Regions from separate parts of the Homo sapiens genome. Here regions 1, 2 and 4 are each linked to region 3. Evidence: promoter capture Hi-C in 16 types of primary human blood cells and fetal thymus (Javierre and others, 2016). All regions are on one chromosome and are shown on one strand. Each heading gives the region's core, a stretch centred on a gene start or on the middle of the fragment in contact. The rest is flanking DNA. Distances are from core to core; before and after follow the strand shown.

Evidence for each region. The method cuts DNA at HindIII sites, captures the fragments that hold promoters and counts their contacts. A CHiCAGO score of 5 or more calls a contact.
Region 1: a contact is called between a fragment that was not itself captured here and the fragment with the promoter of EPHA7 in region 3, in 1 of 17 cell types (M0 macrophages). The highest score is 5.1, in M0 macrophages.
Region 2: a fragment that was not itself captured here is called in contact with the fragment with the promoter of EPHA7 in region 3 in 2 of 17 cell types (M2 macrophages and M0 macrophages); the score reaches 13.5 in M2 macrophages.
Region 4: a contact is called between a fragment that was not itself captured here and the fragment with the promoter of EPHA7 in region 3, in 1 of 17 cell types (M2 macrophages). The highest score is 5.1, in M2 macrophages.

What each region holds. Positions count from the first base shown.
Region 1 is chr6:90,944,774-90,947,907 of GRCh38, forward strand. The region is part of intron 3 of LOC107986623 (a long non-coding RNA gene); the gene reads left to right. Among named protein-coding and RNA genes, the nearest start is that of MAP3K7, 360 kb to the left of the region's middle. The HindIII fragment of the contact is 547 bases long and covers 1,294-1,840 here.
Region 2 is chr6:91,075,079-91,078,311 of GRCh38, forward strand. No RefSeq gene overlaps it. Among named protein-coding and RNA genes, the nearest start is that of MIR4643, 440 kb to the right of the region's middle. The HindIII fragment of the contact is 217 bases long and covers 1,178-1,394 here.
Region 3 is chr6:93,417,823-93,421,143 of GRCh38, forward strand. EPHA7 (EPH receptor A7) reads right to left here and starts at 1,737. Exons shown (of 17, transcript NM_004440.4): 1 at 1,423-1,737. The coding sequence starts at 1,519. RefSeq lists a silencer at 1,785-1,984. The HindIII fragment of the contact is 10,467 bases long and covers 1-3,321 here.
Region 4 is chr6:90,924,707-90,928,099 of GRCh38, forward strand. All of the region lies in intron 3 of LOC107986623 (a long non-coding RNA gene), which reads left to right. Among named protein-coding and RNA genes, the nearest start is that of MAP3K7, 340 kb to the left of the region's middle. The HindIII fragment of the contact is 3,573 bases long and covers 86-3,393 here.

The DNA of each region.
Region 1 (3,134 bases), core at 317-2,816, 2.5 Mb before region 3:
CAATCAACTTACTGAGCCCTCTGAGATATGATATTTTTAAATGCAGTAATGTGAATGGTGAAAATTTTTTGGAGGTTAGATCAGTTTAATTCTGGTTTGTATGGATATTGCACAGAATAGATACTGCTATTGTTGTCATCTTTTCACTTCAGTCTGTAAAGTAAGAATTCCATCATCTGCCAGAATTACCAAAATCAGGATGTTTCTCCTTATGTATAAATGTGTGTGCACGTGTACATATATGAGCATATGTATACTAACACATGCAGTTGTGCAAGAAATGTCATATTATCTTTCTGTATTATTCTGTATTTTTCTGTATTATTTTTCTGTTATCCTGAGTGCCCACCACACCAGGGTGGCAGGGAATTTAGTCTCCTTCGTTACTATGTCTCCCTTCCTGGGAAGATTGATACAAAAGCCCGGAATTTTATTATGTTGGTGCAAAAGTAGCTGCAGTTTTTGCCATTAAAGCAATGGCAAAAACAGCAATTACTTTTGCACCAACCTAATATATGCAGTAGTATGTTCACAGACCGCCCTCTTGTTTTCAGGTCACAGTGGTCACACTGATGTCATTATGGTTCTCAAAAAATGGTGGTTCTTCTTGTTCCAGGCCAGGTTGGTTTCAGAAATATTTGCTGAGCCTGAGAACTCCAAACCAGCTTCACTTGGGGCACCACAAAGCAATTGCTTTCTGTGGTCCTGAGATGTTCCTGGGACACACTGTGGAGAAAGACACAGGCCCTGCTATTCTCCACTTTCTACCTGACCTTGAAAAGTCTTTGAGAAAGTCCTTTATGAATTTAAGCATTTGAAACCAAAGCCAGGGGGTGGCCCAGGGATGTTTTAGTCAACTTTTGCTTTCAGCCCTAAAACACAGGACACAACTCTGACTGGGAAAAGGACAAACGCAGTAAGAATTAACTTAAAAATGTCAAAGATTACCCAACCTACATGTGTTCATTTTTGCAAGGGAGATGCATATAATAATAATTAAAGAATGATGAAAATTATAGCAGGTAGGAAAACCCAGCACCTGCATGCTTTCCATAGGCCAGCCCACAATGACACTGAGAGATTAACAGGTGCTATCTCATTTTCTCCTCATGGCCCCGAAAGGCAGGCACTATTGTCCTTACCTTAAGGATAAGGAGATTGTAGATTTCGAAAGGTTAAGTAGCTTGTTCAAGGTCCTACAAGTCCTCTGTAGGGGGCTAGAATTGGTCAGTGTCTGGGGCTCCGCTCTCAACCCTATGCTCAGCTTTTGCGTCTCATAGGAATCGCTCTTAAAGCTTTTCACTAAGATAGACGTCCATCTGTCTGCTCCAAAGCAACAGGAGAGAACTTGAGGAGCATGCTTTTTTTTTTTTTTTTTTTTTTTTTTTTTGCCACCAAAGTTCTTTTGGTGCACATTTCCAGTAGATTGCACATCTCCTGAAGGTCTGTTAAAGGTGGTCAGAATACAACAATGAATTCAGAATAAAATTGATTTAAAGACTTGTTTACATAGCTGATATTGAAACATGGGCTCTAAGGTAGATATATTTTCCAACATGAAACCGAATGTACTATTCTTGCTTTTATCTTCATGTCTACATGTTTTCTCAGTCTAGATCAAGTTTTTAGCCCTGTGAGGACTTATGTAAGACATTTAACGTCAGTTTTAACATTAGACGACTTAGTTATAAATTTGTTTTGTAGATAAAACACTATGCATAATTTTGTAATTTTTCTCTTTAGGCTAATGAATGAAAAAACAAGCTGTAGCCTAAATCTACCAATGTCAATAAAAACTAATTTACTATCCTTCTGCTTTGCCACCTCAAGTACTTTTCAAAGCTTTCAAATTATACTGAATTTAATATACATACATATAAATGTACATACATGTATATATACATATATATGCACATATATATATATAAATAGGTAAATGTGTTTGCTTTCCTTGGCATGTTTCAATATATACATGATATTATAATATCATTATTAATTTCAATGTAATTTCAATGATACATTATCTAATAGCTATGACTATTTATGACCCACACTATTCTAATGGGTATTGAGCACATTTTGATGAAATATACTGTATACCCTGAAAGTGGTCTTTTGTCCTGTTGTGGGATAGCCATCTATGACAGGCTGGAATTAGCTTGGGATTTTTGTTAGGCACTTTACCTGTAGGCCAGCAAAAATCCTGACCAACTACCAGAAGGGGCTTTCATTCACTCTCTCATTCTGGTGTTGATGGCAGTTGCCGGCCATCTGGAGCCGTCACTGCCATCACGCTGGCTGCAGCCGGGAAGGCGTGGGCAGTGGCAGCAGGGGTGGCTGCAGGAGCAGCAATGGCAGTGGTTGGTCCCCTGTGCCCCACATCCCCGATGCAGCTGACTGAGCCGCCCCTACCCTCGCACGGTGGGGCGGGATTTGCTCCCAGGCCTGGACCCTCTGCTGCTTCGGACCCTGGCCCCATGTTGCTGCTCTCCCCGGCTGCTGCTGCGGGGAGGGTGCAGCGAGGAGGCAGAGCTGGGCCCAGGGTGGTGCTGCGCTCCATGGAGCCAGCGGGAGCCGGGGACAAGCGAGAGCCATCCCCTAGGAGCCCACCGCCCCCGGAAGCCGCCGCAATGAGGCCAGGCGGAGCCGCCTATTAGCGCGGGAGCAGCAAGGTAGGGCATGGAGGGGCGGGCAGAGAGGGCCTAAGAGAGAACCTGGAGCTCCTGCCCCAGGCTGGAGGAGGTGTAGCCAGGGCTGCCCGCATGCTCCACTGAGCTGATGGGAGTTCTGCCTTCCCAGGCACAGGACCCGGGCGTCTCTGCAGTCTGCACCCATGAGTGCCTGGGAAGGCCCCCCTTTCCCATGCAGGCTGGGGAGTGTCTTCTCCCGCCGCCTGGCCTCTCCCTAATCCTGGTGCCCTGTCCAATCTCAGAGTGGGGTTGGGGCTGAGCCCAGTCACTGCCACAGCCTGGCTGGGTGTGCACAGACTTGGTGCACTGCTGACACACCAACGCCATGCTGCCTTGGCCCCTCCAGGTTTTGGGCATGGATGAGTATGGGAGGAACCCAAGGGCAGTGTAAGTGTGGCTACCTGCTGGCCTGCAGGTTCCCCTTGGCGTGAGCAGCCTGGGCAC
Region 2 (3,233 bases), core at 36-2,535, 2.3 Mb before region 3:
TGCCAAATGGCCATGGAAGGGATGTCAGAGGAAAGGGATATAAAGGAACTGGGTCACTTGGTAACCACATCCCATCTCCTCCTGTTGGTTACTGACAGCCTGTGGCTGCAACTTGCACTGAGATGCAATAGTGGAGTGCTTTTCAGCCTTTAATGTGCATGGAAACATCCAGGAATCTTGTTAATCTTCAAATTCTGCTTCAGTAGGTCTAGGGTGGGGCCTGAGATTTTGCATTTCTAACAAGATCTCTGGGGGTGCTGATGCTGCTGGGCCACAGGCCACACTTTGATTAGTGAGCAGTTAGAGGACTTATTGGTGTGGGAGGCTCTTAAACATTCCAATGAGACTCAGGCTGCAGTAATAGTACAGGGCCTAATATGTATAACAAAGAAATATTGTCTTTTAACGGCGTACCCCTGGCCTATCCCCTGGGATCTAGCATAAAATGATTTCATTATATTTATCAAATATTCTCTGCAAAACATATTGCTATAAAAATCAGTTAAGCGTTTGTGACCAAATAGAAGAAATAAAGAGCTATAATTGTCTAAAGAGTGATACATGAGAAATTCACCAGAGCTATCTGGTGCACAGGATCTTATAGCCTCTTTCATCCATCAAAGGTTTTTCTCCACAGATGTCAGCCAGGAGGTTATCTGTATCGTAAACACTATGCAAAGCTTTCTGGATCCTTTCTCTGGGACAGGTTGCCTCCATTGACTATGTTATCAATCAGGGCATAAACCACAGCCTTAATGTTATCTGAGACTCAGAAGTTCACCCTGGCACACTAACTGCTGGGGAATTATGAGTCGTGGGATTGCTCTAACACAGAGAGTATTGTGCTGTGAAGATTATGGAATCTTATTAGAAAAGGCTCTGCCCCAGATATGCAGCAGTTAAAATCAGAGTATTTCTTTAGATACCATAGGGAAGATGAAAAATGTTGGAACCTGTTTATATTGTCTCATATGTACTCCCAGGATGCAGAGCCAGCAGCAGGAGCTGCAGCAGCCCTTACTTATTAGTACAAATTTCCCCTTTGAAGGGTTATTTAAAAATATTTGTACATATTTCAAATCCCTCAATCTGGTTTGTGGCAAATGGTTGCTTAAATAACTTCTTAATTATTTTGTTCTAGTTTTTGCAGAAGGTCTGTTGCAGATATTTAGCACAAAGCTTAGATTGTTGAGGCCTTTACCTACCTCCTCAATAGATTTCAGGAAAATAAAATAAAGGGCTGCTAAATTGTTACTCTCTTTATGTAGTATGCACAAATAGAATGGATTGTGGACCTCAGTACAGGAAAGACATACTTGCACAACTGCATGGTAATAATTTTTATGTATGTTAAAATTATGTTCTTGCTATTTTGTCATAATATTCCAGAGTGAAGCTTTAGAAGAATGACATGCTTATAATAGCTGTAAACAGAGTCGCTTTGCAGATCTCAGGTAGCAAATTATCTCATGAACTTGTAGATAAAATGTAAGCAAAATTATTTGAAATTAATGGTAGATAAATAGAAACGAATTAAAGCCAATGTTATTTTGCAGTAAAATCAGGTAGAATCACTCGTTGAAGGAGACTCGTGAGTCACCAAACTTGGACTTAAGCAAATTTTGATGAGCAAATGTATGCCAAGTCTTGGTTTCTGCACCTATGTTTGAGTGGCTGGAAAGACACACATCAAGTATGGAGGGATGCTGGCTTGTGGAATTTATGGACTAAGGGTGTATGAAATCCTGAATGATCCTGAACTATCATGTGGTCAATTTGTTCCTTGTAGCTATACTGAAGATGAGATGGTGTCATACCCTAATTGATCCTGTGGTGGCTGGTTTGAAGCAGCTGGGCTAGGTACCTAGAGACAACCTCAGTCCTGTGTCCCTACTTTTCTAATTATTTATGTAACCTGCTGTATTTTATTCTATATATTTACACATGAATGTGTATGTGTGTAAGATATATATGTATCTGTTTCATAAGCATAGGAAATACAGTAATTGCTGAGCTCTCCTCCTACACCAGATTATATAAGAAACAACCAGTTGGGAAACATCATAATGCTGAGCTTCACTTACTCTCTCAGCCTTTTTTCACCTGCCATTGTGTATCTTGGGTAAATATGACTCATCACAAAGAAACCTGAGTATTAGAATTTAGGAAAAAATCCAGTTTGGGCGATTGCAGTGTCAGAATTTGGATTCTTCTGATTATGATTATGTTGAGTGGTCCTTTCAACAGATTAAGGGTGCTTTCTGGTAAATTAAGTTTTCAGGGCAAAATAAGGTGAGGTGACATATGAATATGCATATATGTATGTGTGTTTATGTGTGTATATGTATAAATTTGTGTGTGTGCATTTATATATACATCTTCATCACACCACATGAACCATTTGGAAACTATCCTGCTGAGGGTGAGAGCCTATGTGATGTAACTTCCTCAGTTTAGGAAGAAGGGAAATATCAAGGAAAGTAAAGAAAAATGAGACACCACTCCAAGATAACATTGTTTTACAATAAAATCCATAATCTCCACCCCATGAAGATCATGTTGTGGACACTGTTTTGGCAATGAAAATAATAGGTACATGTCAAAACACTTCAAATGGCCACCATCCGTAGACATCAGCTTTATACAAAACATCACATGGTCATTGAATGAACAGTGTTCACCTACACTTCATTTTAAGGAAATGAAATGAAATCCCTAACCCCAGACCCATAGACAGAGAGTTCAGCCAGGCCCAGTAAAAGATACGATTTAGTCTAAGCAGACCATGGCCTCAGGCAGCCTACCACCTGCATAAGCTTAATAAAACAAAAAGCAAAAATAACAGAGCTTGGAGGTTAAATAACACAAATAGATCATTTCTAGAAAAAAGCAATTTGAGAAAGAGTGAGTTCATGCAAATTCCCCAAAGTCACACAATTGGTAAGTGGCAGAGCAAAGACGAGAATCCAGGCATCCTGGCTTGAGTTTATGTCCTTGACTCTATGCAATATCTTCTCTCTACAGAAGCTGTGACCTCAGAGAGGTTGCTTTAACATTTGTTTTTAAACTCTATGGTTTCTTCTTTCCTTCATTTTACAAATAATAATTGGCTGCCTCCACACTTCTTTCTGCTAGTTGAGTGGGAGGAGAGAGGCATGAATCAACCAATGATCCAATAAATTATTTAATTTCAATTATGAAAAGTACTAGGAGGCAAAAGAGGCTATGGAAAT
Region 3 (3,321 bases), core at 487-2,986:
GAATGGGTTCAGCATCTATACAGGTTGCAGATGTGGAAAGTGGGGTCAGAAGGTCAGGCTGAAAGAAGGACTAGAATTTGGCGCCGGGTTTGAGGGGGGCTTGAGCGAACTAAGAGGAGTGCACGATGAGAATAAAGAAAAGGTGCACTAAGTTTTCAGAAATAGATGAATCAAGGACCTATATGTAAGTCCCCTCAACACCCCGCCCGATAACCACCATGACCTAAATTTCATAACAGATTCCTCTCCCTCTACACATCAGGAATAAGTAATTATTTCTCTTCTGCTTTTAACAGATCGAAAAATGAAACTTAGATACACAGCCTGAAAGACCAGGGGGGCGACGGGATGAGGGGGGTTGGGGATGGGATTGTGACACTGCTCAAAAGCAAGAGACTTCCATTGACAGGGTTTATTTTTCCCCAGCTCCAACTACAGGCACCGAAAGGTATTTTACCTTCTGTCAAAGGTTCAAAGAAGGAAAACATAACCATATACAGGCGTATCTGTAACAGCTTGCCAAATAAAACCTGCCTTCTCCTACCAGAACCAACCCTCAGGGTTCAGGTCTTTGGCAAGGATTGGGCACTCGGATTCCTCAATTGCTGCACTATGGGGCAAATAATTGGGGACTTTGAGTCGCCCAGGCGGCATCCTTACAAATTGCACAGCTCCAGCCCGCCCCCTGCCTCCACGGCCCGACCAAGCCCGCTGGGCTGCCGCTGCCCCCATGACCGCTGGGCCCGACGCGCAGCGCGCGCTGAATGGAGACATCCCCGGCCCTCGGGTCGCGCGCCGCACGCCGCGCTTCACCTCCGCGGCGTTATTGTTCCGTGCTGGCGGCCGAGCGCCAACCGCAGGACCGCGCCGCCGCCTCCGACGCAGTGAGCACTTCATTAGTAACCCGAGCTTTCCGAGCTCATCGAAGTCTCGGTCCCTCTGGGAAGGCTCCGGGCTCCCGCCACTCGCCGGCGGGCTGGCGGAGACGGTAGGGGCTGCATTTCCCAGTCTCCAACCCAACTCTGGCCGCAGCTCCCACAGAAGGCGAATAAGGAGACAAGGAAGACCGAGCTAGAGAGAGATGTGACCCGCCTGAGGTACTAAGAAATAAGCTCGCCGGCAGTTCCTCCAACCCCACCCCACCCCCGTTGCTGCTCACGCCCTCCAGACTGCCCGCGCCAGAAATCCCGCACCCGTCGGATGGACGGCTCCGGGCACAGGGCTGTAGGCGGCTCGGAACAGCCCTGGTTCGCGCTCGCTGGTCCGCCAGGAGCGGCCTCAGCGGTGAGGGGGCGGGGAGCCGGCGGGGGAGGGTCGCCCGGCGCCGGAGGCGCGGCCGGCAGCGCCGCGGACGAGCTGGCTTGTGCAGGTAGACATCTAAATAAATAAGTCAGAACAAACTTTGCTTTCCCATCACCTTACCTTCCTTCGCAGCCTGCGCCTCCCCTGTGTGTGCAAAGCGGAGCAGCCAGATGTAGCATAAAATAATCCATGAAGGGTACCGAGTTTGAAAAACCATGGTGCATGAGCAGGTTTTATTTTAGGTTTCAGTTATCTTGAGTCGTGGATTTTTAAATGCTGTTTGTTCCGAAGTAGCTTTTGTTTTATTGTGCTCCTTGCATCGATTCCCCTTCTCGGTCCCCGATCGGCTGCTCCACGTTTAGCTTTTTTTAATTTCCCCCCCACTCCTGTTCGCTCGCACCGTGTTTGCTGCCTGCAAGTCTCCGACTGCAGACCGGCCGCTTGCTCCACACTCCAATAATATCAATTAGGGGGGGAGGGGGCGGGGCTCCGAGCTGAGAGCCTCCGCCACTCGGGCTGAGTGGCAGGCACAGCCGGCCTGCCAGGAGGCGATTCCCAGGGCCAAGGGGCGGGTCCCGGCGAAATGGCCGCCCCGGCCACGGGGGCGGGGTCCGAGGCAGGAGCCAATCGGTGCCGAGCGGAGTCAGGTTGCTGGTCCAGGATTCCCTCCAGGTTCTGAGCTCGCGCTGGATGTTCAGAGGAGAACGAGGATGGTAGCCGAGGTGTGTGCTGCTTTGGACGCTCTGCTTTTAGCAACCGCAGCTTTCGCGTAGCAGAATAAATCCGAGAATAACGCTCCCAACTTACACTCTTTTCTATAGCTGTACTCCGCGCGATCTTTTAGAAACCAGAGGCGAAGCAAGCCTTCTCTCAGCTACCAAGCACGGAGCCCGGACAGTGAAATGAGCTGTGCCTTTAAGTAAAGTGTGTTTTACTTTTTTGTTGTTAGAACCTCCGCGGGCTGGGTAACTTTGTTTTTTGCCTTTTTGAAAAGTTTCTACTTCTCTTTTTCTGTTACTCCAAGAGCCGTCAGTTTTAGGTACCACCCACCACAATCCCTGAAAGAATAAAGTAACCAAGTGTATTATGTTTAAACAATGTTTCCAAGAGTTTGCAACAAGCTCTGGCAAAAGAAACAGAGGAAAAGGGAGTGGGAAAGGAAGTCTTTTGTTTTAAGCGCCCCTTCTCCTCCGCCCTGTCTTTTCACCATAGTTTGTTGAGCGAAGTGAGACATTAGGAGAGAACCTTCTGATGGTTGCGTATCGTTTTTTTACGCGTTTATCATTTTCTAAGGTTTTCCTTGGATTGCCTCCACTTTGATAGTTTTCCATTTCGCTGCATAAATTACACTGAATTTTAAAGAATGCCACTACGTATTAAATTCATAAAGCAAGACCTTTCTCTTCGCAAGTATTTACCATTTTCAGGAATTATTCAATGCTTATCTTTCAAAGAGAAACTAAGAATAAAAAAAGTCATAACCAATATCTCCAGTTGAATTCATTCAACCCGAACGGCAAGGAAGGCTGCGTAGAGAAATCTGTTTTCCATTAGGCAGTTTCGGACACTTTGTATTCAAGAGGTAGGTAATAAGAGGAAGAACTTTAAAATTTTAATTGCCAAATCTTCAATTTCAAAGGTCACACAGAGTAACTTGATCACATGTTTAAGATGAATTTCTTTTTTTGTCCTATAATTTCTTCCTTTAAAAATATTTCTCAGTCATTTATGATTTCCTTTTATTTCCGATAGATCCAAAGTTTGATCTCACATAAGGCTCCAAACTTTTTCCAACCTTTCTATCTGGAAATATAAAGTAAATTGAGTTGTTTCTGCTTTTTATAGTAGGGAGTTCTCTAAGATGACAACCCCCAGATATTTATTTGTATTTTATGTTAAATTGTCTCCTGTAGTTTTTATTTGCCTAATAAAATAACATGGAAGAGAGATATGAAATTTATTCTTTAAACCTCTTTGATTCTGTAGTTTCTGAAACATTTCTTCAATGTTACATATTCC
Region 4 (3,393 bases), core at 622-3,121, 2.5 Mb before region 3:
AGGGAAGACTTCAAGGGGATTTGAGACATGAGGACAGAGGTGTTTGTGTGGGTAGAGAAGAAAATGGAGACATGGAAGGTGGAAAAGCTTCCTTTACGTGTAACAATGTTGATAGAAATGTAAATATTGTTCAGCTTTTTTTGAAGGGCTTGGGCATGCATTCAAAGTCACACACACAGTTCCCATGCATTATTTGCTTGCAATGGGAATAGACAATGTGAGTAGAGGGTGCTAAGTTTTGTCTAGAAGGTGCTCTCACAGTTCAGCTTTCATTTTCAGGAAACATAAGAACAAAGGAAAGATGTTACTGCCAGAGCTTGAGGAAGGAGCTGTTTCATGGTATGTTGACAGTAATTTAATCATGAAAGGTTATCTTCTAGACTAGCACTCAAATTTCCTTAGTCTTTCCTGATGATCAAGGGCATTCTTTGTTAAGTCTAATGTGCTGGCCCTCAAAGTTGCCTAGTATGCAAGGAAGCTGTCAATCATATACTTTAAAAAATGAACAGCAGAAGGGTTCTAAAGGGAAATCAAATTATGGTCCATTTGGAAATGTCACAATCAAGTGGTACTAGCAAAACTGAAGAGGTTCATTGACCATTCAAATTGATATATAAAGAATTACGTGTTTTTGCTGCTAATCAAAGATAAAGCTGCCTATGTGGAGCCTGAGCCCACTCAGGCTTTAGCTAATGTTAGTGTTTACATGACATGTTGGAAAAAAACTGGGCAATTACAAAGGCCCAGTCTAACTAGATCCTAACAGGCAAAATGCCCTCTGATCCAAATGTTAATAGCTTTGACCTTCATTGGTTTTTAATCTCATTCTGTCTAGCAGAGTAAATGAACCCTAGATTACACTGTACAGAAGAGTCTTTTCTGTTTTTCATTCAGTTTATTTTTATGTTTTTTCTGTTATTGCGGGGAAATTGAAAGTCTGTCTTTTTTCAGTTGGGTATATCACTGAGTGTATGCACAGAGAGGCTGCTGATTGACAGTGCTTCGACAAAGGCAGATTCAGTTTGCGGCTGATAAGGAGCAAAGTCATCCATGCCGTGTTTACAAAGTAGGCAAGGAGAGTAAAAAATTAGTGATAAAAGAGCTAATCTCATTGTTTTGCTGGATGAGAGAATGGCACTTTTGTGCTTGCTTTAAGAGGTGCTGGCGTGTTGCCCCTCCTTCCCCCTATATGCTTTGGCGGCAAAACAATTTCCAGATTCCCCAAAGTGTTATAGATTATAAAGGACACAGTAATGCTGGAAGGGTTTCCTGCTGTTGAGAAGGGTGCAAGCTGCACTGGAGATTGGCTGTTTATTCTATGTACTCATGACCCATACTGCATAAACTACTGATTTTCTCCCTCTGGTGTTTCTAAAGCAAAAGATAAATATTTGGGATGTCAGATTAATTCATCAGTGTTTAATTTTCCAACATATTTAAATACTTAGTTGTGCTAAGAATAAAGTTTGACACTCCTTTATGACAGGTCACAACTGGGTATAGGTTCTGGCTGTGGTAACTGGGCCTCTTTGAGTAACAGGCCAAGCAGCTGAAGGAATAGATCAGAGGAGAGGGCTGCACTTTTGTTCTTAGGGCATCAGTGTTTTGTTAGTTCATGACTACTTTGTTATAAGCCCTATAAGCATGGAAGAAATAGTAGTGTATAGTGGCTCTTGGCACAAACACAGTTTAAAAATTATTGTGTCTGCATCTAAAGTGTTCTGGTTATATAACTTCATCCTCTACTCAGTTTTTCTAAAGGAAAGGTAAGAGATGATGGATCAGCCAGAGGGATATCCCAGGTTTTACCATGTCTCATACTGCTGATATCTGCATTTAGTGGTGACCAACAAAAAAGTATAATGGTGGCAGCCACGTGTTTATTCCAGGTGATCTGAATCATTGACTCTTTCATTCATTTATTCAACACCATGTTCATGCAAACCTTCAATGGGCCAGGTGCTGGAGCTACTGATGGGAACAAAACATGGATCACAACCTAAGGGAGTTTCTAATCTTGTAGGGAAGATAGCAAAGTAGACAAATCATTACTGTACAGTATACTGCATTTTATGCTAGAGATGCTTACAGGGCACAGGAGAAGTGCTCCTCAGGAAGGCAAGGAAGGCTCCCAATAGATGATAGTTAATGGTATCTTGAAGAGTGTGTAGGAATGAGTCAGGAAATATACAACTCAGAATAACCAGAGCACTTCTTCTCAAGCTGTCAGACAAACTTGTGTTACAGGAGTATGTAAGGCCACAGAATAGATGTGACCTTATTTACCCCCCAAAATTTACTTTTTATTGGTTTGACAAATATTTATTGACGACCTAATCTGTGCTAGGCACTCTAACAGACATCAGGGATAGTTAATAAATTAGACAATCTTAAAACTCATGGATTTTCAATTCTTGGGAAATATATCTCAAAATATTTGAATATGTTATTGAAAAGAATGTAAAAATTTATGCAACCAAGCATGAGTATTTCATATAAATTTTGTGCTTGCAAGAGCAGTTTTGGCAATGCCCTTAGACCCCAAGATAATGTGTTCATTTTATTCTAGAGTTGGGATACTGTGTTGAAAGACTGAGGAGTGCTTGTAAGGTATATGTGAGGAACTGAGTGTGAGACATGGGATTGGGGAAGTAGGTAAGCACTAAACCAATAAGTTTGCATTTTCTATTAAAATAAATGATGCACTATAAGAGGATTTGAAGCAGGAAAGGCACGATCAGTTTAGGGTTTTAGAAGGATCACTCTGGTGGCAAGTACTCATAGGTCTGTCTGAGATAATGCTTTAAAAATATAGTCCCTATCACTGTTTTGCATTTTTCTCTGCCTGTATTGAATCATTTGAATGGTTTTCATTAATGTCCAAATAGCTAAAGCTAAGGACCTGCACTTAACTACCTGCAAACACACAGTGCACGGACAAGGGGATTTACCTTTGTGGAATTTCTCTTAAAGTTGAAGTTGCCAAAAGCATAAATTGAACCTAAAATTTGGGACCACCTTTATTCATACTCTGAATTGATTTAACTTTCTCTTTAAAATACCTCAAATATTTTACATATACTAGGTAATCTGTTTTTCAGAGAGAGAGTGGTTGCAAATAGCCAAAACCCATTCAAACTAGCTCAAGCTGCAAGGAAAAATATATTGAATTATTAGAAGGGCAAACAATGTAACCAGAACTTAGACCTATAGCCAGAATATAGAAGGAGAATAAGTCTAAGACCAAGGGAGCTACTGTTTTTCCGGGTCTCTCTGATGCATGTTGGATACTAGCTTAATTCTTTGTTATTTCTGCAGCAAGTTGTTTTTTCTTATTCATCTGATTTTTTAAAATGAGCACATGTATAAAATGTCCACACCAAGCTGTGTCCT